Linked DNA regions of Homo sapiens: regions 1 and 2 are each linked to region 3. The links are contacts of gene promoters, found by promoter capture Hi-C in blood cells and fetal thymus (Javierre and others, 2016). All regions are on one chromosome and are shown on one strand. The core of a region is centred on a gene start or on the middle of the fragment in contact, and the rest is flanking DNA. Distances in the headings are between cores, read along the strand shown.

Region 1 (4,146 bases), core at 1,366-3,865, 50 kb after region 3:
AAAAATAATGCAACGTTTCATTTCCTTTTGCCCATGCAGTCCCTGGTCCCCCAACCCCTCAGTCACAAAGGAACTAACATTGACAGTAAATAGCCTCAGAGCCTGGCTGTAGATATCAGGACTCTTCTGTTCTGGGGCTGATCTCTCCCTGTCACTCTTTCCCCAAGCCCCAAACCCCCTTTGACAAGGTAGAACTTCAGATGTATAAGACAGAGTTCATAGGAGCTAGGAATAAGAGGAGATGGCAGCGGGGCATAGGGGAACCCCATCGTGTACCGCATGAATGGAGGAAACTCTGCAGTCTGTCACTGGGTTTTTTTGTAATTAAGATGGGTGCAGGGGTGTGTGAGTGTGTGTGTTTGTGTGTGTGTGTGTGTGTAAGCCCCCAGCCTTCTCACATCTCTATGTACCAAACAAACAATATATTTTACCTAAATAACTCCATTTCCTAATGATAATGAGTCTTCCCCTCCTAAGGATCCCCCACCCCCTGGCTGGCAAGTCCCTCCCTTGTGCCTGGGGCTACAGAGCTGAAGGAAAACAAAGTTAAGAGCCCTCTAATTCAGCCTTAGTTCAAGCCAGATCAGGTCAGGAAGCTTTCAGGCCCAGGCATCAGGGCTTATATTCATTGCCAGCAAAATGCCCCTATATGCTGGAAATATGTCATAGATTATATGAGTTCCGGGCCCTCTTAGCACTTGCGAAGTCTCTAGTCCACCCTCATTTCTTTCTCAGAGAAGCCTGGGCTGGGATACCCCAAACCCACAAGCACTAGAGATTCCTCTTCATTCCTAGGACTCCATGCAAATAATCTTCACAGAGAGCTGAGCGCTCCCATAGTTATATATGTGAAAACGTATTTATAGATCGTTCTATGTCTATATCAGGATGTATGTTTTATATTCCTTTTTGTTCCACATTTAAATGCAGATTTATAGATCCATAGTGAACATAACAGTCCTCGGTCAAATTCCTGTGTGCACTTTACCAATCTTTCTATAGTGGTTGGATGTATATGCTAGGATGTATTGGTACAGCTCTCTTGAAACACCTAAGTGAATATTTGGAAATTTTTTTCTTTGTTGGAAAGAACTATGTGTGTGTTCAATGTCTATTTTGAAAATTTTATCTAGATTTATGCAAGGATCCTAACCCATAAAATAGCTACATATTGAAGCTACATATTTAGAGATCTTTACAGTCTTTGCATTTTTGCTGAAAAACTTACATGTTTGAACATATGTTTAGAGATGGTTTCATAATGCATGCATCTGTGTATAGGGGCATAGATCTCCCTTCTAGAAGGACTTAAACTTACTGCATCTCTCTGTCTCCCTCTCTATCTCTGTGTCTATGATATAAAAAGATATTAGGTGAGTGGGGGTAGGGAACAAATATATTTTGGATGTTTGGCTTATTAAAGCAAGTAATTCTGTCTCTATTTCTAAGGCCATCTCCAAAATCTAGTCCCACTAAGTTATCTGTCCCTCGAAAACCTACTCTAGGGGTCATAGACTGCCTCCAGGCTGCCTCTGTGACCTGAGATCCAAGCCGAAGCTCCCTACCTCTCAAGGTAGCCACTAAAAAGAAGGGGGAGAGAAGAAAGGGGAGAGTCCTCCAGCCCAGTTCCTGTTGGATCCCCAGGGCAAGAGGCTGACAGGGGCTTGTATATCTCCCTACACCCCCCACTGGGCCTTTGAAATGTGGGGGAAAAAGGGATCAAGTCCCCAACTGTTTTTATAGGGTGCCCAAATGATGCCAGGGTTACTGCACAACCCATAGGTTCCTCCTCCCCAGTTGTTCTCGGTGCCCAGGGCCCAATTAAGCGGCCGCCTTGCGCCCAGCAGCCCCGCTCTTATCGGCTGGGATTGATGCCTCCGCGTCTCCTGTATATCATTTCCAAGATTTTTTCTGTCCAACTCCTCGGCTCCTTTGGCTTCCGCGGCTTTGACTAATGATTGCTACAGATGCCAACGTCTCCAGAATCCTAATAGCCAGGCAGGCGGACTCTTATTTACCCGGCAACATTGCTGTGGGGGAGGGGGCCTGGGGGACAAGTATTGGGGTGTCGTAGGTCAGGGGACAGGGAGAAGGTTGTGGCCAACTCAAGTGTCACTGAACTTCTTCCCAGTCAGAAAGACATTCCCAATCCCCTTCTCTCCTTGAGGGAAATATATATATATATATACACAGTTAATGGTAACTCATTGCTGCCTCGTTAGAAAAGATCAAAGAATGAACACAACGTGGTAGAATAAGCAGAGCAATGTTTATTTGTTGTAAATAAATGAGAGAATAAGTGGAAAACCAGCAGTTTGGGGAGGAAAAAGAGAAAGGGAAAGAAGTCAGCCACAGTGGGAGAAGGGGCTCCTTTTCTTCATTTCTTGTCTTCCCCTTTCTCTCCCCACCCTAAGTCTACCCTTCTCATCAATTTCTCCCCTCTTTCCCTTCCTTCGCCTCACCTTCAATCCCTTGGGTGGAGGGGCTGAACAGCGTGTTCCCGGGCGGAGGTGCGCGCAGCCACCCCAGGCTGCTGCCAGGTGCCCGCTGGGGCTGCCAGGGCGAGGAGGCCTCTGGGCTGTGGAGCGAAAGTCAGATCCACCGCCTACTGCGGGGTAGGGGCCGCAGTGGGGACCGCCAGCCCTGTGGTCCCTCTCGCGCTGACTGGCGTAAAGTTGTGGCCGAATTCGCATCTCTTCTGGTGCTTCTCGCCCGCCAGCGCAGGGCCCAGGTGTTTGAGGCGAAGGGGCTCTAGCTCCCCGCAAGCCTGGAGCCAGGCGTCGCGCTTCCTCCGGGCTTAATCCAGACCTTTCAACACACACCTCATTCGGGGGAGGAGAAAAGCACAGGACCGCGGAGAGCCCAGCTTTGAGGCCAGGCCTGAAGGGATAACCCACACAGGGAACGTTTTCCTATCAGAGAATAATGGAGCACAAAATAATTCAGAAAGCGAATGGGCAGGACCACAGCCTGAGAGTCCCGCGCCGCGGGGCCGCTGCAGAGCCGGTCTCCCGAGCACCGCGGCAGGACCATTTCGTTGGAATGTAGGGCGAGGCCGAAGCCCGCCCCGGACCCAGGCCGCGAGGTGCGCGCCGGCCGCCGAGGGGCCGCCTGTAAATTACAGCCCGCCGGGAGGACTCGGAAATACACAAAAGGAGCCGAAAGATTTAAACAGTCGGAGGCAGAGGCGTCCCGAGGCGGCCAAAGCGGAAATCAATCACGTAATTAAAACAGGGAGGGGACGAAGCCCAAGGCTGGGGGTCCCGGGTTCGGAGGAGGCGGCCAAGGTGCAGGCCGAGGCTGGCGAGCGGCTTAGGGACGTGGCTCGCCCGCCAGGACCAGAGCGCGCGGAGGGGCTTCGGGGAAGTTTATAACACATCGCTATTGATTCCCGCTTGGCTAGGAAGAGCAGACTCTGGTGCCCTCTCCCAGGCCAGACCCTGAAGCCTCCGATGGCCCCTTCTCCGACTTTCCCGTTTTTGTGGGGTTGAGACGCGCAGTTGCAGTTGAAGGCCGCTCCCCAGATCCCACTGGTGCCACGATTTTGCCAAGGCAAGTTTGCGAACCCAAATGGCATCAAGATGCTGCCTTTGGGTTTGAGGGGATGGAGGGAGGTGACACCCCAGTTTCAGGCACTAAGAAATCTCTCTCGGCCTTGATTCCTCCAACCCAGGATTCAAAGCATGCCCGGAAAGACTCTGATCTATGGGCCGAGGCTTGGAAGGGGTGTGCGAGGCAGACGGGGTTATTAAAGGGAGAGCTTGGGGCTGAGCAAACTGGACCCCTTTGGGCTGGAAAGGAGAAAGAACAGCTCCTGGAAGAGAAAAAAAGGCACACCGGGAGCTGTGTTTTGTGAGGGGAAGATCTTATTATTGAGGTTAATCATGGTAATGATCTGGTATGGCTGGGTCAGCCCAGGAGACCGCGCTCTCCAAAGTTCTTTCTCACAGAGGTTTCTCTGGGGGAGTCAAGGGTTCCCCAACTTCACTATGGTTGGGGAAAATAAAATAAAGACCTCCAATCCTCTCCTCTGCCTTTTCCTCTCCCTCCCTTAAAAACTCCAGAAAAAGGGAAACCTTATAAAATCTCCATCACCCCACTTATTTTTCCTTGGCTCTCTCCAGTTTACTAAAATGCACGGTCTTT
Region 2 (3,904 bases), core at 67-2,566, 42 kb before region 3:
AAATTCGAGTGTTTTTTCTATTAGACCCCAAAAGGATACATCTGGTTTGGGGGAGTTTTATTTTGTCTTTCTTTTTAATCCGCTTGGCTGTGTTCTGTGGACCTAGTTGAGATCGGATTGTGGTTTTGCAGATGTTGATTATCTCACCAATGGCCAGCATTGCTTCTCGGCCTTCTCTGGAGGGAGCTTCTGAGTTTGCACCATAAATATAATTTCACCCCCCAATAAGATAATTCTTCAAGGGTTTTTTCCCTCAATCCTAGCCCCCTCAGGAGGCAACCTACTGCGGGCCTCTGCACTGCTATCTGATGGTCCCAGGGGCAGGCTTGGCCGGTTCTGGGGTGCAGTTGTCTCCTCCGCAGTGAGAATTAGGCCCCTCTCAGCCCAGTCAAGCCCTGTTAGGGGTCCAAAGCTTCCCACTGCAAAGACTCCAGGAGGCCCCCAGAAGCTCCTCAGTTCCCCGGAAATGACAGCAGAAGAGTAGTTCGCCCCCAGATTTTCAGGAGCAGGCAGGCAGGTCCATGTGGAGCTAGGCACCTCCTTTTGCTGCATTCTCTACCTCCCTTCCGCATCCTTCCTCTAGCCGTGAGTGGAGGTGTGAGGCTGGGTGGCTCCCGGCTCCAGAGGAAAACCCGGCATTATCAATTATCCTTGAGTATTGGGGAAGAGGACTCCAAATGTCTCTCCAAATTCCTGAGGATAAAGAGCTGATAAAGAAGTGTGCAGCAGCAGCTGGGGCGGGAAGAGATAACGGCAGGGAAACCTGTCCTTACCCCCACTTCGCCTCTACTGTAAATAAACCCCGAGCCAAAGGGCTCATCCGTCTCCTTAAACAGTCAGTAAACTTTATATGACACAATATCTAATAGTAATTTATTGAGGAGATATTGTAAATTCCAACGGTTTTAGTTAATAAAGAAGCTAATTAAAGAGGGACAGGCTGTGCTTGGCCAGCTGTTGGCGATAAGATAATATATGGGGGGGGGTGCAGGTTATAGGGGTGTATATATGCGGGCATTTTTTGGTGTGTGTTTTTTCCCTTTTGCCCCGTGTTGGGCAATTGCTTTACTCTCTGCGTTAGGTTATATACATTGTTTTAGAAAATCAGTTCAGCAAATAAACCTGCCCCCGCCCTTTGTTACCCCACTCACCCCCAGGATTGGGGAAGGGGGAAGTTAGAGTGCGGGATGGGATGGTGGGGGGGGGGGATCGGTTGTCCCCACCCCTCCCCCTGGCGGCCGTGCCCACGTGAGTGGGGCGGCCAATGGGTGACTGGTGCAGATTTAACTATGTTTAATGTCAGATAGCAATAAAGTAGAAGCTGCCGGTCGGGCCCCGCGGAAATGGGCGAGCATAATCTCCTGAATCCCGGGTTTGTGGGGCCGCTGGTAAACATCCACACGGGAGACACCTTCTACTTCCCCAACTTCCGCGCGTCCGGGGCGCAGCTTCCCGGGCTGCCTTCGCTGTCCTACCCACGCCGCGACAACGTGTGCTCCCTGTCCTGGCCGTCGGCGGAGCCGTGCAATGGCTACCCGCAGCCCTACCTCGGCAGCCCAGTGTCTCTCAACCCTCCCTTCGGCCGCACGTGCGAGCTGGCGCGCGTGGAGGACGGCAAGGGTTACTACCGCGAGCCGTGCGCCGAGGGTGGCGGCGGGGGCCTGAAGCGTGAGGAGCGCGGGCGCGACCCGGGAGCCGGGCCCGGGGCAGCGCTGCTCCCGCTGGAGCCGTCGGGGCCGCCTGCGCTCGGCTTCAAGTACGACTACGCGGCGGGCGGCGGCGGTGGCGACGGCGGCGGCGGCGCAGGACCTCCGCACGACCCGCCCTCCTGCCAGTCGCTGGAATCCGACTCCAGTTCGTCCCTGCTCAACGAGGGCAACAAGGGCGCCGGCGCAGGCGACCCCGGCAGCTTGGTATCGCCGTTGAACCCCGGCGGCGGGCTCTCGGCCAGCGGTAAGGACCCCGGCCACTCAAGCGGCGGATTCAAACCCGACCTCTTACCAGGGCGGGCAGAACAGGACTGAGCTAGGGACGCCCAGGGTGACAGAATGTGTGGCGAGGAAGAGCTTCTTATAAAATGAAGTGCGGGTGGGGGGAGCCTATAAACATGTAAACATCCCCACAAAAGAAATGGAGAGTGTTCCTTTTTCGTCTGCCTGCGGCTGGAGGCGGCAGGGATTCCGGAGTTGGGGGATCCTGACGGGGACTCCCCAGGCCTGGGGGTGAGGAGGTGGGGACAGAAAGCCCGGCCCTAGTTCTCCCAGGCGCCTCTCCCTCCACCTTCCCACAGACCCCATTACTTACATTTCGAAAGAAATGCCAGTGGATGCGTTTACTCTGCCATTCGCCCATATCTGTTGTAACTGATCCGGGATCCAGTCCTGAAGGATGTGAGAGGAAGGGACCAGGAAATAGGGAAGAAGAAAATTGGGGAGAGGTTTGGGAAAAAAGGAGGGGATAGGGACTTAGAAGGGTCATGAATAGTGCAGCAGGAGGTAGGGTTGAGGAGGTAAGAGCAAAGAATGAAAGGAAAAAAAAGAGTAAAGAAAGTGGGGGAGTTGGTGGGGATGTGGGTCTGGGTAGAAAAGACGATTCAGATGACTGGCGGCAAGGAGAAGGGAGAGAAAGGGCCTGGAGTCCAGCTGTGAGGCGAAGGTGAAAGGGTCTGGGGAAGGGCCAAGGGCACTGGACTGGTCACCCTTTGATCCTTTGGCCAACCCCTGCCATTCATCTCCACCCAGGCGCGCCCTGGTACCCGATCAACAGCCGCTCTCGGAAGAAGCGCAAGCCCTATTCGAAGTTGCAACTGGCAGAGCTGGAGGGCGAGTTTCTGGTCAACGAGTTCATCACACGCCAGCGCCGGAGGGAACTCTCAGACCGCTTGAATCTTAGTGACCAGCAGGTCAAGATCTGGTTTCAGAACCGGAGAATGAAAAAGAAAAGACTTCTGTTGAGGGAGCAAGCTCTCTCCTTCTTTTAAGGTGCAGGACACGGGCGCCAGCCCCAGACTGAGCCTGTCCCTGGCAGAGAGCAAAAGAGGGCGCCGCCTAGAACACAGTCCCCACTTAGAACGCCAGGCGTCTCTGGCAGGCCCTCCCTGGATATCCTCTTGTCTGTTTTGTTCGTGGTTCCCTCCCATACACACCCAAAACACCCTGCCAGGTCCCAGAGAGAAGGGAAGAAACCTAGCCAGGGAGAGCAGAAGCCGGCAGCTGCCTGCGGTTGGCAGGGGCAGGAAGGCTGAGGTGCTGCGGGCTGGTTTATTTGAGGCAGGACTGGGGCACTGCACCTCCGCTGAGGATCTGGAGAAGCAGCGGCCCAGATGTCCCCTTCCTCTACTTCCCTTCCATGGTCTTAATTCTCTTTGCCGTCAGGAGCAAAGAGCAGGGCCAGTGGAACCAAGGCACCTCAACCTCACAGTTCCTGGGGTTAGAAGAGGCTGGGAAGAGAGAGGAGGGTGGAGGGTCAGCGGAGAGAGCTGAGGGAGTCAGGTGTCTCTGGTAGGGCTGGAGGAAGTGGGGAACCAAGGAGGAAGTGTGGTTTGTGAGAAAATGATTAGCAAGAACCAGAGTCTGCTTGGGTCTGGGTCCCCCAGGACACCCAGTGGGCAGAAGCTTGGGCATTTGGCTGGCCGGGCTGTGGACAAGGACTATCAGCCTCATGTTCCCTCTAGGACCAGAACAGTGTCCTGGTCCCCAGCCCTCTCCTGATCCCGCTGCCCGCACCGGGCGAATGTCTGTTCATAGGTGTGCTGCCATCCACTCCTCCGTTGCCTGCGGTGGCTGCAGGCCTGATGCAGCAAGCAGGGACCTGAGAGCCCAGGGGACACAGCCTCAGGTTCAGTAGCCACCCCAGAGGTCCCCAGCTGGCTCTCCAGAAAGAAAGTGCAAGAGGCTGTAGATGG
Region 3 (3,814 bases), core at 274-2,773:
CGTCCCCAAGTTGGAAGGGCGCTTTGCTTCTGTTTTCTGGATGCAGAGTCCTCTGACTCCCTCTGCCACGGGCTGAGTTTCCGGCTCCAGGTTCGCGTGTCGCCCTGAGGTTTGAGGCCAGACAGCTCGCAGTCGGGCAGGGAGGGCGGGGGAGAGACGAGCGGCTCTGGCCCCTTAATTGTACTTCGGGCTCGTATTGTCTCTCCTTTCGCCACCTCCGCTTCCTCAGTCTGGGCTCCAAAGTCACTGCAAATTTCCTTGCGACACATACATCACACAAAAGATCAGGTAACAAGGCGCTCAGGGCCACTGGGGCTCCGGGCAGGGCAGGGAGCGGCTCTAGCTCTGGGGCGGCTCCCCCTCCAGCCACTCCCAGGCTGGAAAACCAGACCGCGTTGGGGGAGCCGGAAATAGCCCCGCTTGCTGCGGAGCGTCAGGGCGGGGGCGCCGGCGGGAATGCAGGCCCGGCAGGCCGTGGCTTTGAGAGAGCCACGTTCACAGGCCCTGGGGATTTCACTCCTGCTGGGCCTCGGGACCTGACTCCTGGTGTGTAGGGATCCCAGATACCCACCTTGGGTGGGGGCAGGACGCGGGTTTCCTCGCGGCAGGCCAAGAGAACTCAGTTTCTGCTTCCAGCGCAGGCCTTAGCTAGGAGGAGTTGTGTGTGGGTGTGTTTTTCCCAACAAAGAGGGATCAGGAGAGAGAAGGGGGGAAAGTAGAGGGGAACCAGGGAGGGGGCGGGGAGGGGAAGAGGGCAGTGGAGAGGTGAAATGAGCCCATTTCAGGGGGAGAAGGAAAATGAAAGCAAATGGAGTACGGCCTTCTCCGCGCAGGGCGGGTGCTGACGAGCCGGGAGCGGGCTCCCTGCCTGCGGCAGCCGGGATGGCCCGCTGGGGACACCGGAGAAAGCCTGTTTTAAATTTAATCCGAACTTGACGGTGTGGATTGAACCGGAGGGAATTTAAATCACTAAAAGGAAGGCGCGGGGCAGGGGGAGGGGACGACTCTAACCTGTCTATCTTTCTGTCTGTCCTTCCCACGGTGCTAGTTTGGTTGTGGCCGCAGCTGCCCAGGTTTCAGGTGATGGAGTAAGGGTGCCCCTCCCCCTCAGGGGTCTCTCCTGTGCCCAGTGAAGTCTTTTGGGGGTGGGAGGGAACTCTAAGAACCAGAGTGAATGCACAGCTGCGAGCTAAAGCTGGGGTTTCCCCCTCCCCAACAAGAACTCCCAGTGGCCTCCAGTCCCTGGGTTTGCCCCAGCGGTGCTGAGGAAAATTGAAGGGAGTATGTGGGTGAGGGGAAGTCTGGAGTATGGCAGAAGATTCAGAAGGAGTAACTGAACCCCAGGAAGACAGACCTTCCTTCTTGGTGCCCCTATATCCTTTGTGCCCCGCCCCCCGCACCTACAAACCTGGATTTGAGGGAAATCTGCAGGTCCGCTTCAAAGCCCTGGTCTGCCACCCACACCCCTCCAAATGTGGAGAATGGGGGCTACAGGCCACATGCAGTTGTGGACCTGCGGAACCTCCGCCCAGTGGACTCCGGAACTCCCAGCCTCTTCTAGCCCCCCTCCCCAAGGCCGCCTCTCTCCGAAGGGCGCAGGGAAAATGAGGCATTGGCTGGGAAGGGGCTGTGGGCGAGGCCTGCTTCCTGATCCACAGCCGTGCCTGCCTCTGAGTGGGAAGAGTTCGGAGGTCATAGTCCCAGAAAATAAAATAAAATAAAGGAAAGCGACAATCTCCTTGGTTTCACAGGGGATTTCACGGCAGCAGGGATCCCGCCGGTGAGCCTCACTGCCCGCTGCTGCCGCCTCCGCAGAGTGGGCAGGCAGGGTGCGCAGGCAGCTCAAGAGTTGAAAAGAAGGCGGTGTTCAAAGGGGGTAGGAGAGAAGGGGGCATCTCTTTACGGCCCCAATGTCTATTTGAGGAACTCTCCCAAATAGCAGAGGCCCATAGGGGAGGCTCCTTAGGGACTCTTTCCTCCAGGAAAGCTGAGGCTGGGGCAGCTGGCCTTGTCGCTTGGAGAAGACGCAAAGGAAGAGCAGGGGTGAAACCTCTTTCCTCTTCTGTTTCTTCGCTCCTTGAATAGAGCAGGGCTCAGCCCCCAGCTGCCTAAGCGGCTGTCTGGACCAATATGGGGTTCTATATCCCTGAGGCCTAGAGTACCCATCCGAGCAAGTCTCCTGGGAGGGGCAGGAGAGGAGCCCTCTTCCGCCTTTGTGTCCAGACAGAAGTGGCCGCCGCGCCCGGAGCCGGTCCCGCGGCAAAGGCCCGGCAAGCCAGCGGGCTGCACAATGCCACGGCTGCTCCGCCAGCTCGCCCCTGCCCCGTCCTGCCTGCCTACGGCCGCCCTTCCTCCGCCTCCCTCTCTGCACGCCTGCCTTTCCCGGCTCTCCTATCTCTTTTCATCTTGCCTTCCTTCTTTTAATTCTCCCCCTTTTTTCCCTTTATTCTAATGCTCCGCTTCCTTCTTTCCTCTCTTGGGCCTGACTCCATGTTTCAGTTGGTCTGTCCCAGGCTGTCTCGGGTTCAGTCTCTCTCAGGCTCTGTCCCCTGATGTCCTCTTGGTCTCAGTCTGGCCCCGGGCCCCGCTGAGGGCTAAACGTCTCTGCTCATCGCTGCCAGCAGCCGCCCAAGTGCCGGGCCCGGTCCTCAGCCGCCCTGGGCTGGGGGAGGTGCTGGCTGTACTGGGGATTTGGAGAAAGCCTCGGCAGGGGGACTGGAACCTCCTGTCTTTTCCTTGAACTAGTGAGGGAGATTTTTTGATTGACAGCTAACCCAACTCCATCAAGGCCAAAGAGATATTCTGTTTCTTGTTGTAAGTTGGGCTTCCCAGCTCAGTCCAGCTCAAGGGAGGGGAAGACAGTGGCGCCAAGGAGCTGAACCCCCAAGTCGCCTCTCCCCAACCAAACACATCCCTCATCCTCCCCCATGAGTTGAAATCCCAGCCCCGTTAAGCCGCCCCCTTAGACCAAAAAGGAAAAGGAAAGAGCCAGAGAGGGGGAGGAGCAGAGACTTGGGAGGGGGCCTATGGAGCTGGGGTCGGTGCTGCCAGCTGCAGCTGTCTCCCCCTAACTTTCCTCCCCCCGGAACACACATACTATACACACTCTCCCCAGCCCCTCTCCACCCCAGAGGAGAAAGATCCATAGAGACGCAGGAGAAAACTAGCCCCCGCCCCTACCCCTGGCGTTTGGTCCCCTCCTGGGGACAGGAGAGGGAAAGAAGGGCAGGCGTGGCCGGGTCTGGGAAGACTCCTACCCTGCTGCCTCCAGAGCCTGCATCTCAACCTCAGCTCCTGTCTATTTTCCCTGGCCACAGACTGGGACTCTTCCTTTCTGACCCTGAAATTGCACCCCTCCTTTAAATTCACTCTACCCTGCCTAAGTGCACCATATTTCTGGGGGTTTCACCTGTCCCTTTCTCCCCACCCCCCAGCCAACCTCCATGCCCCCTCTTCTTCACCCACCCTGATAATTTCCTACTTGACTAAAGCCCCCCTTTACTACACCACCATGGGACAGTCTGATGCAAAGCAGAGGGCTGGGCACAAACCCTCAATTGAAGGAGGAGGGTAGCAACCAACTTATTGGGGGGAGGAATCCAAGTTGTCTGATATTCCTCTGCAATCACACTGCCCCCTCTGGAATTCCTGCATCCGACCCCAAAGAAATTGCTTTCTCCTGTTCCTCCGTTGCTTTTTTCCCGTTCCAAAAACAGCCTACAATTTTATTTAATGAAAGATACATTTATGAACAATCAAATGATCCTCATAAAAATTTTATTGAGGGACGTAAAAACAAGCTACTTGCCCACGA

What was found. The method cuts DNA at HindIII sites, captures the fragments that hold promoters and counts their contacts. A CHiCAGO score of 5 or more calls a contact.
Region 1: a fragment that was not itself captured here is called in contact with the fragment with the promoter of HOXC-AS2 in region 3 in 3 of 17 cell types (total B cells, naive B cells and fetal thymus); the score reaches 7.7 in total B cells.
Region 2: the fragment with the promoter of HOXC12 here is called in contact with the fragment with the promoter of HOXC-AS2 in region 3 in 2 of 17 cell types (naive B cells and total B cells); the score reaches 10.2 in naive B cells.

Annotation. Positions count from the first base shown.
Region 1 is chr12:54,044,366-54,048,511 of GRCh38, forward strand. It overlaps a transcript of HOXC4 not described here. Among named protein-coding and RNA genes, the nearest start is that of HOXC4, 7.4 kb to the right of the region's middle. RefSeq lists an enhancer at 2,076-2,975. The HindIII fragment of the contact is 4,043 bases long and covers 595-4,146 here.
Region 2 is chr12:53,953,587-53,957,490 of GRCh38, forward strand. HOXC12 (homeobox C12) reads left to right here and starts at 1,317. Exons shown (of 2, transcript NM_173860.3): 1 at 1,317-1,953; 2 at 2,742-3,904. The coding sequence starts at 1,344. The coding sequence ends at 2,980. LOC105369775 (a long non-coding RNA gene) reads right to left here and starts at 2,841. Exons shown (of 3, transcript XR_944977.2): 1 at 2,756-2,841; 2 at 2,305-2,381; 3 at 1-693. The HindIII fragment of the contact is 3,202 bases long and covers 411-3,612 here.
Region 3 is chr12:53,995,262-53,999,075 of GRCh38, forward strand. It overlaps HOXC-AS2 (HOXC cluster antisense RNA 2), which reads right to left and starts at 1,524. Exons shown (of 3, transcript NR_047505.1): 1 at 1,409-1,524; 2 at 572-648; 3 at 1-257. It overlaps HOXC-AS1 (HOXC cluster antisense RNA 1), which reads right to left. Exons shown (of 2, transcript NR_047504.1): 2 at 3,761-3,814. RefSeq lists an enhancer at 1-524. The HindIII fragment of the contact is 15,520 bases long and covers 1-3,814 here.